2 separate regions of the Homo sapiens genome follow, and region 2 is linked to region 1. Evidence: promoter capture Hi-C in human tissues and cell types (Jung and others, 2019). All regions are on one chromosome and are shown on one strand. The core of a region is centred on a gene start or on the middle of the fragment in contact, and the rest is flanking DNA. Distances in the headings are between cores, read along the strand shown. Region 1 holds the start of KLK1 (kallikrein 1). Region 2 holds the start of SPIB (Spi-B transcription factor).

The links. Contacts are between HindIII fragments. The study calls those that stand out against the background at their distance.
Region 2: a contact is called between the fragment with the promoter of SPIB here and the fragment with the promoter of KLK1 in region 1, in 1 of the 25 tissues and cell types used here (IMR-90 fibroblasts).

The regions. Positions count from the first base shown.
Region 1 is chr19:50,822,074-50,825,835 of GRCh38, forward strand. It overlaps KLK1 (kallikrein 1), which reads right to left and starts at 1,714. Exons shown (of 5, transcript NM_002257.4): 1 at 1,630-1,714. The coding sequence starts at 1,675. KLK15 (kallikrein related peptidase 15) reads right to left here. Exons shown (of 6, transcript NM_017509.4): 6 at 3,216-3,762. The coding sequence ends at 3,723. The HindIII fragment of the contact is 15,345 bases long and covers 1-2,553 here.
Region 2 is chr19:50,417,028-50,420,789 of GRCh38, forward strand. It overlaps SPIB (Spi-B transcription factor), which reads left to right and starts at 1,911. Exons shown (of 6, transcript NM_003121.5): 1 at 1,911-1,958; 2 at 2,919-2,946. The coding sequence starts at 1,936. POLD1 (DNA polymerase delta 1, catalytic subunit) reads left to right here. Exons shown (of 27, transcript NM_002691.4): 25 at 18-70; 26 at 145-242; 27 at 815-987. The coding sequence ends at 920. RefSeq lists silencers at 538-677, 708-767, 1,050-1,218 and an enhancer at 2,758-2,807. The HindIII fragment of the contact is 45,060 bases long and covers 1-3,762 here.

The DNA.
Region 1 (3,762 bases), core at 464-2,963:
TGGTGGGGAGATTTTGTGCTCTGACAGTAGAGCAGCCTCCAGGGATCAGGGTAGGAGACAGGAGACAGTGTCTGGAGCAGACACTGCATCTGGGCGTCAGGTCATTTGGGGTCTGGGGCTGGGGGATGGGAGGTGGTGGGTTAGGGGAGTGGAAAGGGATTCTGGAAACCAGGGATCAAGGCGCCAAGGGTGGGACAGGATCAGAGGCTCACTGAGGAAGAATCTGGAGGGCTAAGGGGCTCCTAGGCTAGGGAAACAGGACCTGGGTTGGGCTTTTGAGGTTCAGGAAAGGATGCAGCTTTAGGGAACCAGGTCTGAGAGGTAAAGAAGAGCATCTGGACTGAAGAGTTTGGGGGTGACTTGGGGTCCCTACATTGGGGTTGGAAGGGGCCAGCTTGGCTGGGACAGTTAGATTTCAGGGCTTCCTGGTTAAAGGGTAAAAGAAAGGGCTATGGTTAAGGCTAGAGGTGGGCTTCCGAGAGGTTTTGGGGTCCTTCCTGTGAACCAGGAATGGCAATCTGAGGGGAGGTTGGGGCCCTGAGAACACAGTTGCGGTCAGGACTGGGACGGGGCTCAGGAGGAGGGAGGCGTGAGTGGCAGTCCTTCTCGGACAGGGTGAAGGATGGGATCTTCGTTTCTCATGGGGATGGGGTTCATGGTCTGAGGGTACTGGAAGGATATGGGGTCCTCTTGGAGGCAATCCTAGGAAGAGGATTGGAGAAGTGGTGAGAACAGGCGCCAAGCAGCTGTGGGAATGCAATGCAGGACCCACTTGACGTGAGGTTGTAGAATCACATACTGACTTGGGGGAGGCCAGGGCAGAAGCGCTGGCTGAGAAGGCATTCAGGATCCTTGGGGTGGGGTTCCAGAAAACCAGAGCTGTGTAGGAACAATTCAGGCAGAGAAGGGCTGGGGCCTGGGGCGGGATGGAACTTCCCCAAGGAAAGGAGCATGTGGTGGGAGGGTGTGGTGTTTTTCCTGGGAGAGCTGGGGGTGCTGGGTGGGAAGGGACATTTGCAGACCCCCCCCCATACCAGATGGGGGATCCCACATGCCAGTTTGGGAAGCAGGGTTTTCTGGTGAAATTTGGGGGACCCTGGAAGGACTGGGGAGACCAGATGTCAGGGTCTGGAGGACACAGTTGAGAGCGGACAGCTGGATGGAAAAAGTCACTGGAGTGTGGTGGGATTTGTAGACTCAGGAGCCAAATAGGTGGCCGCAGGGAACTAGGGGGCAGGAGGGGATGATCAGAGTCCTGTGGGGTGGGGGAAGCCCATGGGAGGGTTGGGGTCCTCCAGAGAGAGACAGAGATGGCCCAGAATCTGCCCCTTTGGTAAAGCGGTGGGACAGGGCGTTGGCTAGGGAAGAGGAGAAAGTACTGAGGCTTCCTGGGAGGAGCAGGAATCTGGTGTGGGAGTGAGCACTATGACAACATGGAGGAGCGGGGGTGGAAGTTTAGGGTGGGGCCGCGCAAGATAGATAAGAGCCGGGGCACCCCGGACTAGGATAGACTGTGGGCCAGAGGGATGAGGGTGGGGTGTTGGAGGGGAAGGTCTTATCGGGGGGGGATGTGAGGCCAGCAAGAGAATCAGGGCCCGTTCCCCCTCCCACATCCCCCCACTGTCTCACCAGTCCCCCCCAGGGACAGGGCGAGGCACAGAACCAGGAACCACATGGTGACAGAGGTGTCCAGGGGCCAGCAGGTGGAGGAACTGGGGAACCTCCCTGGGGAGGCTTTTAAAAGCCCTTATCCCCTCAGAGCCCCACCCCTGCCCTGCTGGCACCCAGATGTTGGCCAAGGCCCTTCCCCTGTTGCCTGGGGGCTGGACAATTGCCCCCCCCCCCTCCGATCCCCAGAGCTGTAGACGGGGAGGGAGAACCAGCACCTGTTCTGCAGGCCCTGGATCACGCTGGACGCATTCCTGGGGTTGAAGCCAGGTGGGGCAGGGCCTGTGGCTCTGGGGCTTTGCTCTGGGGAGCAGCCAGTGAGGCAAGGGGGGACTGAGGGGAAGCAGAAACAGGAAGACGGAGGAATCAGTGACCCCTGGTACAAAGCCCCATATACCTCAGTCTCAATTAAGGCCCTGCACCCCCAGACCTGGTGCCCTCAAACACCAGCAGTTAGGGCTCTGATTCCCTGCACCACTCGGAGCCAAGATACTAGCATCTCAGCTGCCAGTTCCCCCTGAAATATAAGCCTTGGCCTTCAGAATGCCCTGGTTCTTGCACTCCCAGACCCAGGACCTAGGTCCCCAAAGCTACTGTTCCTTTCATAATAAAATTTTGGGGTACACATCACCACATTCCTAGTGCCTCCAGATCCAGGAATGTGAAGTTTCAGGGGTCTCCCAGGGTAAGTTCTTTAGCATTACAAAATCCAGTGTCCCTCCCAAACAATGCTGGGGTCTCAATGAGCCTCCCACTTCTTGCTCCCAGTTATGGGTGCTCAACGTCCTGTCCTCCAAAGTCCCAGAGATCTGGACAACCTTCCCTCCCAGGTCAAGATCAGGCTAACCACAGATTCCAATGACCCTTCCCCCCCACCACCAGTACAATATTTAGGTCTCACGAGCCAGGTTCATGTACTTCAACATTCAGCGACCTTGAACATCACATTTTGTGGTCTCTGAAGATAATTAGGAACTAGATTCCTGCAGCCTCAATGGTAAACCCATAGGCTTCCAACAGGTTGTCTTGGCTTTTTGGTAAAATCAAAGCAGCTCAGAGTTCCAGCCTCTGCTGTATATCAGGGACCTGGCTAAGGAAAGGACAGTATTTGCCTTTTTGCCATGGCTACCAGGAAGCCCAGAACTAAATCTTTTTTTTTTTTTTTTTTTTTCTGAGATGGAGTCTTGCTCTGTCACCAGGCTGGAGTGCAGTGGCGCGATCTCGGCTCACTGCAACTCCTGCCTCCTAAGTTCAAGCGATCCTCCCACATCACCCTCCCAAGTAGCTAGGATTACAGTCGTGTGCCACCACGCCCGGCTAAATTTTTTTAGTATTTTTAGTAGAGATGGGGTTTCACCATGTTGGCCAGGCTGGTCTTGCACTCCTGACCTCAAGTGAGCCGCCCGCCTTGGCCTCCCAAAGTGCTGGGATTACAGGTGTGAGCCACCATGCCCGGCCCAGAACTAAACCTTAAAGAAAAAGCCATTCTTGGTAATCTAGTGTCTGTTAGGTCCTTTAACTGGGATCCAGAGATAGAGGGTATTTACTCAGTGCCAGACACGATTTTAATCAGTTCAGACGAATCATCTCATTTAATCCTCACAACAGCCCTTTGAAGTCAGCAATAAGATGGTCTCATTTTACAGATAAGGAAACCAAGGCGAAGTGAGATTGGGCCTCTTGTTCAAGATCACACGGGTGGTCATGTGTGTTGAATGAATGGAGCCCTGCTTCAAGCCGCTTCTCCTCACCTAGGGATCGGGGTGGTGGGTGAAAAGGAACAGTGTACAGTGTCTCGGGGTTTCTCTTTGACCCCAGAAAAAAGTCACAGAAATTCCTACAGAGCAACTTGGATCAGCGCTTTGTTATCTTGGCATTAAACAGGTGACCTTGAGCGCCAGCTTTGTCCTCAGGTGGGACAAGTCCTTGGCTAACATCTGGGCCTTGGACAGGGTCTTGGGGGATGGCTCCGTTCTGTTCCATGTCAGGCGGGGCTGCTGGCCAGCTGTGGGGGCTTCTGCTCAGTCAGGGGCACAGGAGATAGGCTAGAATAGTCAGTTCCTCTTCATGGTTTCCCTGATCCACTCCAAGTAG
Region 2 (3,762 bases), core at 661-3,160, 400 kb before region 1:
GACCCGCCTCCCCACAGGAGCCGTGTGTGAGTTCTGCCAGCCCCGGGAGTCTGAGCTGTATCAGAAGGAGGTGAGAGGGCCGGGAGGTGAGGAGGGGCCAGGTGGGGAGGCGGGGGCGCCCTGCTCAGCCGCTGCCGTCCCCAGGTATCCCATCTGAATGCCCTGGAGGAGCGCTTCTCGCGCCTCTGGACGCAGTGCCAGCGCTGCCAGGGCAGCCTGCACGAGGACGTCATCTGCACCAGGTGTGTGCCATGTCCCGACCCTGGGCTGCCCCGCCCCTTCCCAGCTCCCAGGCCTGTGGGTTGTGGACCCAACCTCTGACTCCAAGGCCTCTCCTGAGCATCCTCCCCGCCCATCCCCTTCCAGCTGTGAGCTGTCCTGAGCCTCAGTGTCCTTGTCTGAAAAATGGGCCCATCCCAGCCCCCCAGAGGGGGTGGGTGCTTAGGGAGGCAGCGCCCGGCACCCAGTGTTGCCCGGGAAACGGCTGTCCTCCCGACACACCCAGCCAGCCTGGCCCCCTCCCCAGGGCGGGGCCGGGCTTTCCCCAGGGAACGGGTAGGCGGGGTGGGTTCCCACGCCAGGTGACAGGTGATATACGGCCAGCCATGGCCCTGCACCTCGCCAGGCACCCGCTGTTATCGGCTCCCCCCCCCCACCCCCCCCGTGCCTGCTGAGCAAACAGCCCGCTGCGGGAGGGGGCGGGTGGGCTGGGCAGCAGGCGGGGACCAAAGTCCTGGGAACAGCCCCCACCCCTCTCCCAGGCTGGGCACTGGGCCTTGGCTGGTCCTGACCCTGCCCCTGCCCCCACCCGCAGCCGGGACTGCCCCATCTTCTACATGCGCAAGAAGGTGCGGAAGGACCTGGAAGACCAGGAGCAGCTCCTGCGGCGCTTCGGACCCCCTGGACCTGAGGCCTGGTGACCTTGCAAGCATCCCATGGGGCGGGGGCGGGACCAGGGAGAATTAATAAAGTTCTGGACTTTTGCTATATGGTGCTTTGTGGTCTCTGGGGGACACTGTCTGGTTTCATAAGCCCTGGCCTTGGCTGGGACCCTCCTGAGGCCCGCACCGCCCCTCATCCTCAGCAAAAGCCCCCGGACTCCCACCTGTGCTGCCTGGTTCATGTGGGCCAAGCCTGCCTCAGTTTCCTCTCTGGCCCTGAAGGAACCCTTATACCAGCGCTTCTCTGCCCTGCTTAGGGCCCCCAGGTGTCTGGCCCCGGCCCAGCCCTCCCTGGTGATGACCCTGGGGACCCTGGTGGCTGCCCCGCCCTCCAGGTGCTGACCTGTTTCCTCCAGGCCCTGGGGCAGCCCCAGGCGCACCGGGGCTTCCACTCCTCAGCCCGGCCAAGGGGACCCCCCCATCCCCCGCCGGACCACACACCCACGATGTTTCCACGTCGGGGTCCTGGCAATGGGCTTTGGGTCTGGGTTTCCCCCCAGCGACTCCCATCTCTATCCCCGCAGCCTCTAACTGCCGTCAGATGCCCTCGGCCCTCCCGTCACCTCACACATCCCCCGGGGAGAGTCTTGTGCTTGCCCCTCGGCCCCCAGCCCGCCCCTGCTGGAATTCGGCTCCTGGGTCCAGATCCTCCGTTTCCTGATTCTCCTCTTCAGTGAACCCCAGCCCTTCCTCGATGTTTTCAGGGTTCCCCCAAATCCAGCTCCTGTCCCATCTCCAGCCCTCAAGGTCAGCCCCCCAAACCCAGCCCCACGGGGATCCCCAAATCCAGACAGCCCCTGGCCCGCCATCCCTGCCATGTGACAAAGGGGTTGTGCAATCCAGCCCCCTCCCCTGACCCCCTCCCTGAGGGGATTTTTGAGGAGGGCCGAGCTTGTGGCCAGCGGGCACCCTCCTCCCCCCGGCAGGGGCTGGGCCAAGATATAAATAGGGTTGGCGGCTGCAGCGGGCGGCAAACAGCCCGCCCGGCACCACCATGCTCGCCCTGGAGGCTGCACAGTAAGTGAGGGCCCCCAAACCTGCACCCGGGGTCCCCACCTGCACTGCCCCTCTGTGGGGCCTCACCCATGGGCAGTGGTTTCTCTGCTCCTCACGGCCGGTGGGTGGGAGTGGAGGGGAGGGGTCCACCCTGTCTCTTGCCCCTTCTGGTTCTGTTCCCTCTTCACTTCGGACTCTCCATCCCCCCAGTTCCTATCTTTCCTGGTCCCCAAAGATCTCATTTCCCCAGAACACTTGCTAGCGTGCCCTCCTGCGGGCGTCCTCCGTGGCTCTCACTCTGTCCATCCTCCTGTCTCCCCGAGTTCCCGTATCTGTTCGCTCTGTATCTGGCATCTCCCAGCTCTCAACATTCTGCCTGTTGCTCTCTGTCTCTCTGCCTGTCTCTGTGTCTCTGTCTCCAGTTCTCGCTCTCCCTGCCTTTTGGTCTCCTTCTGCCTCACCCTCACTCTCAGTGCCTCCATCTGGGGCTCCAGGAATCCTCCCCGCCTCTGTGCGTGAATGTCCCTTTGCACACCTTTCTCTGTGTCCCACCTCTCCTTGAGCCTCCTCATCTGAGTCTTCTCCGGGCTTCCCCCTCTCTACCCAGACATCTCTCCATCCTTCTCCTCTGGTCCAAGCTGGACTCAACTGACTCGCCACCAAGGCCGCACTTGACCCAGGCCCCCTCTCCATCCCCACACCTCCTTTCCGGGACTTTCTCTCCCTCACTTTCCCTGCCCCTCCCCACCAGGGTGTCTATGCAAATTCTGGGGAGGAGGGGGACATTTGCCTCCCCCCCACCCCCCACTTCCTGTCCCAGCAGGGGGTAGTGGGGGAGTCCGGTGAATGTGGTGGGGCTGGTCCCTCACACAGGGCTGCGGTGGTCACAGCTGCTGCCGCCTCCCCATCAGCCCCCAACCACTTTGAGATTCAGGTGGCTGGAGGCAGCCTCAGCATGCCCCTGTGTCTCTCCCCCTCCAGGCTCGACGGGCCACACTTCAGCTGTCTGGTGAGTTGGGGCCCCTGGGGGCCAGGGAGGGGTGGCCCACAGTGACCTCCCTCAGAGAAGTCATTTGCTTCCTGCCTCAGTTTCCCCTCCCACCTCTTCCTGTCACTTTGTTTCTGAGCTCCCCCTTGGTATCTCCTGCTACCCCGCATCCGTATTTTTGATGTCTCTCTCCCCCTCTCAGGCTTGAATCCACTTCCTTGTGGCTTTGTATCTCTCTCTGCCCATCCCATATTCAGACAATGTATTTTCATGTTCCTTTCCTTCTTTTTGTTCGTATTTTTAAAAATTGTGTTCTCTAACAGTTCAGATACGGAATACTATACCCAACACCCTTGAACCCACAATCCAGTCTGAGTAATCAAATCTTACTGATGTGGTTGAAAGAAAGCCCCTGTTTATGCCCCTCCACATTCACACCCCAGCCATGTTTTTTTTGTTTGTTTTTGTTTGTTTGTTTTTTAATTGAAGTGTAACTAACAAGTCAGTAAAGTGACAAATCTTGTGTTTTTGCATTATCTATACACCGTGTAGCCACAAGCCAGATCAAGATACCGAACATTTCAATCTCTGAAATATTCCTTCCTGTCCCTTCTCAGTCAATACCTTTCTCTGATATTTTCCGCCACCAATTTGTAATTTGTTTTGCCTGCTCTTTTTTTTGTTTTGCTTTTTGAGAAGGAGTCTCGCTCTGTCACCCAGGCTGGAGTGCAGTGGCAGCGTCTTGGCTCACTGCAAGCTCCACCTCCCGGGTTCAAGCAATTCTCCTGCCTCAGCCTCCCAAGTAGCTGGGATTACAGGCATGTGCCACCATGCCCA